4 separate regions of the Homo sapiens genome follow, and all the other regions are linked to region 1. The links are contacts of gene promoters, found by promoter capture Hi-C in human tissues and cell types (Jung and others, 2019). All regions are on one chromosome and are shown on one strand. Each heading gives the region's core, a stretch centred on a gene start or on the middle of the fragment in contact. The rest is flanking DNA. Distances are from core to core; before and after follow the strand shown. Region 1 holds the start of NQO1 (NAD(P)H quinone dehydrogenase 1). Region 2 overlaps WWP2 (WW domain containing E3 ubiquitin protein ligase 2). Region 3 overlaps WWP2 (WW domain containing E3 ubiquitin protein ligase 2). Region 4 has its middle 18 kb from the start of MIR1538.

Evidence for each region. Contacts are between HindIII fragments. The study calls those that stand out against the background at their distance.
Region 2: a contact is called between a fragment that was not itself captured here and the fragment with the promoter of NQO1 in region 1, in 1 of the 25 tissues and cell types used here (aorta).
Region 3: a fragment that was not itself captured here is called in contact with the fragment with the promoter of NQO1 in region 1 in 1 of the 25 tissues and cell types used here (pancreas).
Region 4: a contact is called between a fragment that was not itself captured here and the fragment with the promoter of NQO1 in region 1, in 1 of the 25 tissues and cell types used here (pancreas).

Annotation. Positions count from the first base shown.
Region 1 is chr16:69,725,282-69,728,133 of GRCh38, reverse strand. It overlaps NQO1 (NAD(P)H quinone dehydrogenase 1), which reads left to right and starts at 1,574. Exons shown (of 6, transcript NM_000903.3): 1 at 1,574-1,701. The coding sequence starts at 1,695. It overlaps NQO1-DT (NQO1 divergent transcript), which reads right to left and starts at 1,407. Exons shown (of 2, transcript NR_186363.1): 1 at 959-1,407. RefSeq lists enhancers at 105-1,098, 1,307-1,566, 813-2,012, 1,099-2,091. The HindIII fragment of the contact is 19,943 bases long and covers 1-2,852 here.
Region 2 is chr16:69,874,439-69,877,682 of GRCh38, reverse strand. All of the region lies in intron 7 of WWP2 (WW domain containing E3 ubiquitin protein ligase 2), which reads right to left. Among named protein-coding and RNA genes, the nearest start is that of MIR140, 57 kb to the left of the region's middle. The HindIII fragment of the contact is 7,914 bases long and covers 1-3,244 here.
Region 3 is chr16:69,858,436-69,861,578 of GRCh38, reverse strand. The region is part of intron 6 of WWP2 (WW domain containing E3 ubiquitin protein ligase 2); the gene reads right to left. Among named protein-coding and RNA genes, the nearest start is that of MIR140, 73 kb to the left of the region's middle. The HindIII fragment of the contact is 7,416 bases long and covers 1-3,143 here.
Region 4 is chr16:69,546,093-69,548,932 of GRCh38, reverse strand. No RefSeq gene overlaps it. Among named protein-coding and RNA genes, the nearest start is that of MIR1538, 18 kb to the left of the region's middle. The HindIII fragment of the contact is 7,884 bases long and covers 1-2,840 here.

The DNA of each region.
Region 1 (2,852 bases), core at 325-2,824:
CTGCCACCACGCCTGGCTGCTGGCCACATTTCCAGTGCTCAATAGCTACTTGAAGCTTGTGGCTACCTTACTTGGGCAGCACAGATAGGGAAAGTTCTATTGGACAGGGCTGCCTACCTAGCCCTTTTTTAAAACGTCCTTTTATACTATTTTGTCAGATGGGGTCTCACTTTGTTGCTCAGGCTTTTCTCAAACTCTTGGGCTCAAGTGATCCTCCTGCCTCAGCCTCCCAAAGTAATTTGTAAATACGTGTAAATAATATAGTCCTCTCTTGTTGCATCAAAATGAATGCAAAAATGTCACGATGGGGCCGGGCGCGGTGGCTCATGCCTGTAATCCCAGCACTTCGGGAGGCCGAGGCGGTAGGATCACCTGAGGTCGGGAGTTGGAAACCAGTTTTCTGGTGCCTCCTTAACTTTTGCACTGGAGGGACAACGGAAGGGCCCTGTGTCATCCTCACCTCCCCCATCTGTGATTCTTCTGATGGTTAATTACCACTTTAAAGCTCTAGTTCTTTTTCCTTCACCTACTGAGAGTATATCTCCTTCTTTACAGTAACTTTTACTTTATAGAGTTTTTTTTGAGACGGAGTCTCACTTCGTCACCCAGGCGGGAGTGCAGTGGCACGATCTCGACCCACTGCAACCTCCGCCTTCCGGGTTCAAGCGATTCTCCTGCCTCAGCCTCCCGAGTAGCTGGGACTTACAGGCGCCCGCCATCACGCCCAGCTAATTTTTCAGTACAGACGGGGCTTCACCAGGTTGGCCAGGCTGGTCTCGAACTCCTGACCTCAGGTGATCCACCCACCTCGGCCTCCCATATTGCTGGGATTACAGGCGTGAGCCACCGCGCCTGGTCCCGTTTTGGCTATTCTTTAATATGCTTCCCTATAACTGCTATCTCCACACCAGCCTTGCCTTAGCTCATGGGAAACAAAACCAATTAGTTCCCCCATTACCTGCCTTGAGGAGCAGGGGTGGTGCAGTGGCATGCACCCAGGGAAGTGTGTTGTATGGGCCCCCAAGTGCAGAATCTGAATCTTGCAAAGGAAGAAACAAATTCGTCTCCACGGAGCATGTCTCCCCAGGACTCTCAGCCTTCCAAATCCGCAGTCACAGTGACTCAGCAGAATCTGAGCCTAGGGCACCACAGTAATCCGCATCCGGCTCTTTTTCTGCTCCATTTCGTGCCAAGGCTAAAAGGGCATGCCCACTTGATCCCTGGACTCTCTTGGGACGACTTCCACCCTGCATCCTCTTGCACCTCAGGGCACAGTGCGCAGATGGGCTTGCCTTAGCACCCCCAGCCAGATTTTTGAGGCCTCTGTCACACACACCCCTACAATCCCCTCCCCCAGCCCCGAGAGACTTTTCTTGACTTCCACCAGTTGCTCCGGCGGGTGAGAGTGGAGAGGCCCCTCCTTCATCCCCCAGGCTCCCTCCCTTCCTGGAGCTGCAGCCTCAGCATCCTCCGCCCAGCACCCCAGGATTCAGGCGTTGGGTCCCGCCCTTGTAGGCTGTCCACCTCAAACGGGCCGGACAGGATATATAAGAGAGAATGCACCGTGCACTACACACGCGACTCCCACAAGGTTGCAGCCGGAGCCGCCCAGCTCACCGAGAGCCTAGTTCCGGCCAGGGTCGCCCCGGCAACCACGAGCCCAGCCAATCAGCGCCCCGGACTGCACCAGAGCCATGGTCGGTGAGTGCTGCAAAGGGCGGGGTGCTTGGCGGTCGTCTCTCGAGCACTGGTGCCTGTGGAGGAGGTTGTAGGGGCTTGGCCCTGAATTTTGTTCCTTGACTCAAAACCCACAAAGGGAAGAGATTAGGGACCTGGGATGAGCCTTGATCGGACTCCGGGAGAAGGAGAGCTTCTGTTTGTATCCGGTGTCGCGGATCCTTCCTCACTCCACCCCACGAACTCTAGTGGGCATTTAGGAGAAACTTGACCTTGGAAGCAGAAATTCCCTCCAAAACTGTGGTCAGAAACTGGCCGTCAGAGGCCAAATCAGGCTTACGGTCACAGCCCATACCTCTTTTGGTCTATAGTATCTAAAACACTTTGAAATAAGTTGCTAACATTAAAATGGGTGATTTCACTTAAAAATGTGGATTCCGAGCTTCTGAAGAAAATGAGAATATCTGGCGATTGGTGGACAGGAGTGGAGGAAACTGATGCCTTTGGTTTGACGGAGACCAGAACCGGCTCCAGGCTGCCAGGCACAGGTTTTGTTTTGTTTTGTTTTGTTTTGTTTTGTTTGAGACGGAGTTTTGCTCTTGTCGCCCAGGCTGTAGTGCAATGGCGCTATCTCAGCTCAGCGAAACTTCCGCCTCCCGGGTTCAAGCGATTCTCCCATCTCAGCCTCCCGAGTAGCTGGGATTACAGGAGTGCGCCATCATGCGCGGCTAATTTTTATATTTTTAGTACAGACGGGTTTCGCCAAGTTGGCCAGCGCGGTCTTGAACTCCTGACCTCAGGTGATCCACCCACCTCAGCCTCCCCAAGTGCTGAGATTACTGACGTGAGCCACCGTGCCTGGCCTTGGGAGGCATTTTCCATTGAGGCCCTTGGATTAGGCAAACCTGATCAGATCGTACTGGATCCGTTTCTAGTATTGGGTCCACTTCAGTGATAGAGCCTTCCCACTCGGCCATCGACCCTAGGGGAACTCAGAGGTCACCCCAGCTCCACCCAAGGCATAAATAACCAGCTGAGACAACTGCAGGGATTGAGAGCTGTTTCCCAAATAATCTCACTCTGAGATTGGACAGTACTAAGATTTAGAAAGCTGTTGCCTCATCTGGGGCAGAATCCTGTGTTTTGTAATTTCCTTCCCTGTGGACCTGGTCCTG
Region 2 (3,244 bases), core at 162-2,661, 150 kb before region 1:
ATATGTCTCTCACTTTAAATCAAATACTAGATATTATTAAGTTTAGTGATAAGGAAGGTGGGTTGAAAGCCAAGACAGGCCAAAGCTGGGACTCTTGTGACAGTTAGCCAAGTTGCGAATGCAAAGGAGAAGTTCTTGAAGGAAATTAAAAGTGCTACTCTGATGAACACTTGAGTGATAAGAAAGTAAAACAGCCTTACCAAGAAAAGTGATAGGGAGAAAGCGATAGGGAGTAGTCTGAAAAGAAGATCAAACCAGCCTCGACATTCTCTTAAGCCAAAGCCTAATCTGGAGCAAGACCCGAACCCTCTTCAATTCTATGAAGGCTGAGAGTGGTGAGGAAGTTGCAGAAGAAAAGTTGGAAGATAGCAAAGATTGGTTCATGAGGTTTAAGGAAAGATCCCTCAAACACAGCGTAAAAGTCCAAGTGAAGAAAATGCTGAGGAAGAAGCTGCAGCAAGCTATCCAGAAGATCTAGCTAAGATCATTGACGGGGTTGGCCACACGAAACAACAGCTTTTCAATGTTGACGAAAGAGCCTTCTATTGCAAGAAGATGCTATCTTGGACATTCATAGATAAAGAGAAGTTCATGCCTTCAAAGCTTCAAAGGACAGGTTGTCTCTCTTCTTAGCAGCTAATGTTGCTGGTGATTTTAAGTTGAAGCCAATGTTCACTTAACATTCTGAAAATCCTAGGGCCCTTATCAATTATGCTAAATCTACTCTGCTTGTGTTTTATAAATGGAGCAACAAAGCCTGGATCACAGCACATCTGTCTGCAGCATGGTTTACTGAATATTTTAAGCCCACTGTTGAGACCTACTGTTCAGGAAAAAAGATTCCTTTCAACATATTACTGCTCATGGATAATGCACCTGGTTACCCAAGAGCTCTGATGGAGATTTACAAGGAGATTAATGTTGTTTTCATGCCCGCTAACACAACATCCATGCTGTAGCCCATGGATCAAGGAGTCATCTTGCCTTTCAAGTCTTACTATTTAAGAAATACATTTTATGGCTGGGCACAGTGGCTCACGCCTATAATCTCAGCACTTTGGGAGGCCAAGGTAAGTGAATCACTTGAGGTCAGGAGTTTGAGACCAGCCTGCCCAACATGATGACACCCTGTCTCTACTAAAATACAAAAATTAGCCGGATGTGGTAGCAGATGCCTGTAATCCCAGCTACTTTGGAGGCTGAGGCACAAGAATCACTTGAACCCGGGAGGTGTAGGTTATAGTGAGCCAAGATCATGCCACGGCATTCCAGCCTAGGCAACAGAGTGAGACTGCATCTCAAAAACAAAAAACGAAAAAAAAAAAAAACCCCAAAAAACATGCCCCAAAAAAACCAAATACATTTTATAAGGCTATAACTGCCTTAGATCATGATTCCTCTGATGGATGTGGCCAAAACCCATTAAAAACCTCCTAAAGGCTTAAGCCTACAATCCCAGCACTTTGGGAGGCCAAGGCAGGCAGATCACCTGAGGTCAGGAGTTCAAGACCAGACTGGCCCACATGATGAAACCCCATCTCTACTGAAAATACAAAAATTAGCTGGGTGTGGTGGTGCATGCCTATAATCCCAGCTACTCCTGGGACTGAGGTATGAGAACTGCTTTAACCCAGGAGGCGGAGGTTGCAGCAGTGAGCTGAGATCATGCCACTGCATGCCAGCCTGGGCAACAAGAGCAAAACTCCATCTCAAAAAAATAAAAAAATAAAAAATAAATAAAAACTAAAAAGGACTCACCATTCTAGATGCCATTAAGAACATTTGTGATTCATGGGAGGAGGTCAACATATCAACACAACAGGAGTTTGGAAGAAGCTCAAACCCTGATAGATGGCTCTGAGGGGTTCAAGATTTCAGTGGAGGAAGGAAATGCAGGTGTGGTGGAAATAGCAAGAGAGCTAGAATAAGAAGTAGGCCTGAATATGTGACTAAACTGCTTCAATCTCATAAGAAGACTGGAATAGATTAGGAGTTGTGTCTTATGGATGAGCAAAGAAAGCAGTTTCTTGAGATGGAATCAACTTCTAGTGAAAATGCTGTGAACACTGTTGAAATGACAACAAGGATTTAGAATATTCCATATACTTAGTTGATAAAGCTGCAGCAAAGTTTGAGAGAATTGACTGCAAATTTGAAAGATTTTCTACTGTTGCTAAAATGCTGTCAAACAGCGTCGCATGCTACAGAGAAATCTTTGATGAAAGGGAGAGTCAACTGATGCTGTGAACTTCATGTTGTCTTATTAGAAATTGCCACAGCCACCCTGACCTTCAACAACTACCATCCTGATCAGTCAGCAGCCATCAACATCGAGGAGAGACCTTCCACCAGTGAAGAGATTTCCACTGGCTAAAGGCTCAGATAATTGTTAGCATTTTTAGCAATAAAGTATTTTTTAATTAAAGTGTATACATTTTTTAGACATAATGCTGTTGTACCTTTTATGGACCATAGTATAGTGTAAACATAACTTTTATATGCACTGGGAAACCAAAAAATTCATGTGACTTGCTTTTTTGTGATATTCACTTTATTGTGATAGTCTGGAAACAAACCCATAATATCTTGAAGGTGTGTCTGTAATTTATGCCTTATGACAACTTATGAGATATATACTTTTGCTGTAATTTTTTTTTTTTTGACACAAGGTCTCACTCTGTTGCCCAGGCTGGAGTGTAGTGGTGCCATCTCAGCTCACTGCAACATCTGCCTCCTAGGCTCAAACGATCCTCCTGGCTCAGCCTCCTGAGTAGCAGGGACTACAGATGCATGTCACCACGCCCAACTTTTGCCCTAATTTTATAAATGAGAAAACTAAGACCTAGCGAGTCACTGGGCCTTAAACGCATTAAAGATGAAGAATCGGAATCTGACCACGGCTGATGCAACTTCTGACTGATGTGTATGGAAATTACATTTAGGGAAGAAGTAAAATATGTAAAATTTGGGGGTAAAGTCTTCAATAAAGAATTAGCAAGTAAATCATCCCATACAAGTCTCAATGAAGGGCTATGCCATTCGTCTATTTCTTGATTCCACCACTTCTAAAACTTAGAAATATAATATTTATACAGACGGGCTGCCATTCACTCTTGTTTTATAAAAATGGATACTTTATGGTTGTGACAACATAAAAAAACCACCTGGAACCCAGCTCCGGTTTGGCCTCAAATTTCTTTTTCATGCATAACTGCAGTGCGCAGCCAAAAAAGGCTGCTAAATA
Region 3 (3,143 bases), core at 422-2,921, 130 kb before region 1:
GGTCACTGCAAGCGCAATTTACGGCTCCATTCCACACCCTACCTCTGGACTGCCAGCCTCACAAATGACAGGGAAGGTAAAAATAAAATCGCTGCCAAGTCCATTCTAAATTACAGAAAGACTTCCGGAAGACAAACAATTTCCTTTTGCGCACCCTAGAGTACAGAGCAACCTTCTCAAAGGTGGCAATTTCATTAGACTAAAAAAACTCACCTTGAGAGAGAAGGTATAGTAAATGGTGACTTGTCCAATCTACTTCCAGGCCGTATGTTGGGCTTAGCTGAGAAGAGTGCTCAAATGCCCTCCCAAACTTCAAAGAGAGCTAGAGAGTTCAGAGGGGAAGTGTTCACCTGCTCAACGTGGCCATTGATGGCTTGAGGTACCCTGAACAGAGACAGCAGCCTGTGATTTGTCCTATGACCTGAGATCCCCTGACCCTGAATTATGAGTGCATAGGACACTGTTGCCGCTTAGGAGATGAGCATCCCCATCAACCTCCACTGTGCACAGGAGGAATCTCCATGGGGCTGGCCCCCAAGGAATGCAGAGCACAACCTGTACAGGTGCGCCAGAAAAGCCTCTTCACTTTCTCGCTACTGGCATCATTCCCTGTTTGAATCTGGCCCACTCACTGCCTCCTTTTACTATAGCTCCAGACCAGAAAGGACTACACAGGACCTTGAATGAATGGGGGACTACAGTATATTAGAGTGTTCTTTCTTTCCTTTTTTTTTTTTTAACTAGAGATCGAGTCTTGCTATGTTGTCCTGGCTGGTCTCAAACTCCTGGCCTCAAGCAATCCTCCAGCCTCGGCCTCCCAAAGTGTTGGGATTAGAGGCATGAGCTGGGTAGAGCATTATTTCTAAGTGTTCTGACACGACAAATCACAAGGCAGGAATTCAGCAGGACGGAGGCAGGCTCCAAAAAGAATATGTTCAATGGACATCCCTCAAAATACCTCTCTAGACCCCTACCAAGGGAGAGTCAGACCCTTTGCTGATCTACTTGCCCGGCATTCTCTTCCTGGACTTTCCACCCAGGTGGCCAAATTCCTAGGCCAAATCTCAGTCCAAATGTCCCTCATCTCCCAGGCTACAGTAAATTTCCTTTCATTCTCTCATAACATCCTAATTGTTCCCTTTATGGCACTGCTATGTGTCACTACACATTCATGAGGGCAGAGATCATGTCTTGTTTTGTGAACCTCTGGAGACTCAGCACCTAGTGTGTGCCTGGCCCACAGTAGGATTCAGGAAATATCTGTTGAATGAAGGAAAGATGCAAGCTGTCAGGTTCAAAATCACTCTTGGGCCTGTAACCTCCAGTACTTTGCATATTCTTTCCAATCCAGTCACTCATCACCTCCCCGACTCCTTTAAAGAATGGAATCGGACCACCACGCCTGGCTAATTTTTTTGATTTTTTTTTATAGCGATGGGGGTCTTGAACTCCTAAGGTGAAGTGATCCTCCCACCTCGGCCTCCCAAAGTGCTGGGATTACAGGTCTGAGCCACCATGGCTGGCCCATTAGAGAGAGTCTTTCTACTGTGGGGAGAATTTCTAAAATGACATCCCTCTCACTCTAGCCCCCCTCCAATGCCTAAAACCTGTGAATATGACAAGGTGCCACACCCTTGAGTATGTCGTCAAGTATGTCGTCGTGTACCACAGCAGACCTTAAGAAAGGGGATCATCGGGCGGGGCGGGGGTGGGGGGCGGTGCTCTCTCAGTCTAATTAGCATCACATCACCTCCTGGAAGCAGAGCGCCTTCTCCAGCAGGTGGCAGGAGAGAAAATCAGAGAGATTCAAATCACAGGGAGATCTGACACTCCTTTCCTGGCTCGAAGGTGGAGGGGGCACCGTGAGAAGGAATGCAGGGGTCGGGGCCAGGGGGAAGCTTAAGGAGTTGAGAGGGACCCCCGCTGATGGTCAGCAAGGAATGGGCACCTCAGTCCTACAACTGCAAATAACTAAATTCAGCTAAGGACCTGAATGACTTTTTTTTTCTTTTTCTTTTTTTTTGAGACAGGGTCTCCCTCTGTCGCCCAGGCTGGAGTGCAGTGGTGCAATCACAGCTCACTGCATCCTCGACCTCCCTGGGCTCAAGCGATCCTCCCGCCTCAGCCTCCTGAGTAACCGGGATGACAGGCATGCGCCACCATGCCTAGCTAATTTCTGTATTTTTTTTGTTGAGATGGGGTTTGGCTATGTTGCTTAGGCTGGTCTCAAACTCCTGTACTCAAGCCATCTGCCCACCTCAGCCTGCCAAAGTGCTGGAATTACAGGCGTGAGCCACTGTGCCCAGCCCTGAATGACCTTTGATATGAATTCTTCCCCAGTGTATGCAGATAAGAATGTTGTCCTGCCAGAGCCTTGATTTTGGCCTTGTGAGACCCTGAAGGGAAAAGTCAGCCGTGTGATCCTGGACTTATGACCTACAGAACTGTGAGCTAATAAATGGTGTTGTTTTAAGCCCTGAGTTTGTGGTGATTTGTTACAGAGCAATAGAAAATGAATGCAAATAAATGACAATTCAATTTCCACAGTAGAAGATGGAACTCTCAAATACATGCATGACTAGGGAACAGCCTTGACCCAGTTCTTGCTGGTCTAGTTCAGCAGCCCTCATACAGTTATGGCATCACTCTGTGGGATCCAGTGCCCATGTCGAAGGAGCAGCATTCCAGTGATCCTAATGTCCTCAAGGAGACACTCAATCCTAAGATTCAATAATCACTTGGGAATTTGAACACCTAGTATAAATGAGATATTACCTATTCTTAGAGGGTAAGTAACATTCTTTTCTGGCAGAGTTGAAGTACACGGACTTTACACCTTCTTTTCCCAAACAAGACTTATTTATGTGTCAATTCTTCTCTGATTCCAATACTAACCTTAAAAGCTGCAAGGATTTGAAAAGAACAGTCGGTGAAAAGCATTCAACACAGAAATATCAATCATGAAGAAAAAAACAGATGAAGCCACAGAGACTGTGCAGGCAGTGGGACCCCAGCACACTCTTGGTGGTTCACCTTGCAAGCACAAGGCGGCTGTGATAAAGGGCGCCCCCTCTTCTCTGTGGTCCTCAAATTATCGCATCTCAGGAGTCAAGGCGCCAGGGAACGTAAACCAGCAACATGAC
Region 4 (2,840 bases), core at 89-2,588, 180 kb after region 1:
GAAAGGGTTGCAAAGTAAGGAAGAAAAATCTTTGTTATTTACAGTTGAAATGTTTATCTACATAGGAAGTCCAAGAAAAATATTAAAATAATACAGCAACTTGCTGGCAAAGACATTCAAAAATGTCGTTAATTATAAAAAATACAATTTCAAGAGCAACAAAACTATGAGACGCCCATGAAAATATAACAAAAGATGGGAAATCCTTTTTGTTGTTGTTGTTGTTGAGATGTCGCTCTAAACAGGCTGGAGTGCAGTGGCGCCATCTCGGCTCACTCCAACCTCCGCCTCCCAGGTTCAAGCGATTCTCCTGCCTCAGCCTCCCGTGTAGCTGGGACTACAGGCGCGTGCCACCACGCCCAGCTAATTTTTGTATTTTTAGTAGAGACAGGGTTTCACCATGTTGGCCCAGATGGTCTCAATCTCTTGACCTTGTGATCCGCCCACCTCAGCCTCCCAAAGTGCTGGGATTACAGGAGTGAGCCACCGTGCCCGACCGGGAAATACTTTTAAGGAGAAATTTACAAAATGTTTATTGAAGGACACAAAGGAAAACTTAAAAAAATAGAGCTGATACTATGTTCCTGAATAGAAGGACTCAATATTACAAAGTTGTCTATCAATACATTATAACACCAACCAAAACTCCCAAAGGACTTTTTATGGCTCTTGATAAACTGATCCTAAATTTCATATGAAAGAACAAATAGGCCAAAAATAGCCATGATAATTTGGGGGGAAAAAGTACATAGAGGAGGGAACTCGACCTGCCAGATAAGAAACATTTGTCATAAAGCCGTATTATTAAAAAAAAAAAATGCAACATTTGTTTAGGAATAGACAAACAGATTAAAGGAGCAGATAAGCCAGAAACAGCCTAAATACATATAGAAACTTGTCGTAAAATAGAAATGGCTTTATAAATCAATCAGTGGGAAAAAAATGAAAAACGCAATGGTGCTAGAACAATTATTTATACAAACCCCCCCACAAAACTAATTAGTTCCTTACGTAGATGAAAATAAGTTTTAAATGGATTAAAAATTTGAAAGGTAAAAAGCAACATGTAAAAATTTTTGGAAGAAAATGCAGAATGTCTTTATGGCATCAGAACAGGGAAAGATTTTGTAAAGACTCAAAAGTACAAAGCATAAAGAAAAATATTGGACTACATTAAATTCAAAATATCTGTATACAAAATATATTATAGAAAATATCAAAGGATAACATATAAACTGAAGTTATTTACAGCTCATTTACCCAACAAAAGATTATACACAAATATAAGTATACCTTGAAGATATTTCAGGTTCATTTCCAGACCAAAGCAATAAAGTGAGTCATATGAATTTTCTGGTTTTCTGGTGCATATAGAAGTTATGTTTACACTGCACTATAGCCTATTAAATGTGCAACAGCATCATGTCTAAAAAACTGTACATACTTTAATTCATTAATTAATTATCATTATTTTTTGAAACGGAGTTTTGCTCTTTTTGCCCAGGCTGGAGTGCAATGGCACGATCTCAGCTCACTGCAACCTCCGCCTCCTCGGTTCAAGTGATTCTGCTGCCTCAGCCTCCTGAGTAGCTGGAATTACATGTGCACACCACCGTGCCTGGCTAATTTTGTATTTTTAGTAGAGACAGGGTTTCGCCATGTTGGCCAGGCTAGTCTCAAATTCCTGACCTCAGATGATCCGCCTGCCTCAGCCTCCCAAAGTGCTGGGATTACAGGCGTGAGCCACCGCGCCTGGCCCGTACTTTAATTTAAAAATACTTTATTGCTGGCTGGGCACAGTGGCACATGCCTGTACTCCCAGCACTTTGGGAGGCCAAGGTGGGTGGATCACTTGAGGTCAGGAGTTCAAGACCAGCCTGGCCAACATGGCGCAACTCCGACTCTACTAAAAATACAAAAAAATCAGCCGGGTGTGGGTGGTGGGCGCCTGTAATCCCAGCTACTCAGGAGGCTGAGGCAGGAGAATCACTTGAACTCAGGAGGCGGAGGTTGCAGTGAGCCAAGATTGCACCACTGCACTCCACCCTGAGCAACAGAGCTAGACTCCGTTTCAGAAAAAAAAAAAAACTTTATTGCTAAAAAATGCTAACAATCATCCAAGCTTTCAGTGGGTTGAAATGTTTGTGCTGGGGAAGGGTCTTGCTGAGATGTTGATGGCTGCTGACTAATTAGGGTGGTGGTTGCTGAAGGCTGGGGTGGCTGAGGCAATTCTTAAAATAAGACCACAGTGAAGTTTGCCACATCAATCCTTTCTTTCAACAAAGATTTCTCTGGAGCATTTGACGCTGGGTTTTTTTGTTTGTTTGTTTGTTTTAGAGATGTGGGGGGGCGGGGGGTCTCTCTATCTTGCCCAGGCTGGCCTCGAACTCCTGGGCCCAAGCACTTCTTTCTCCTCAGCCTCCTGAATAGCTGGGATGATAGGTGGACACCACTGTACCCAGCTCGTGATGCTGTTTGATAGCATTTTACCCACAGTGCAACTTCTTTGAAAATTGGAGTCAATCCTCTCTAATTTTGCTGCTGCTTTATCACTGAAGTTTACATAATAGTCTAAATCCTTTTTTGCTGGCCAGGCACAGTGGCTCATGCCTGTAATCCCAGCACTTTGGGAGGCTGAGGCGGGCAGATCACCTGAGGTTAGGAGTTGGAGACCAGCATAACCAATACAAGGAAAGCCCGTCACTACTAAAAATACAAAAATTAGCTGGGCATGGTGGCGCATGCCTGTAATTCCAGCTATTCAGGAGGCTGAGCCAGGAGAATCGCTTGAACCTGGGAGGCAGAGTTTGCAGTGAACCAAGATTGCGCCACTGCACTCC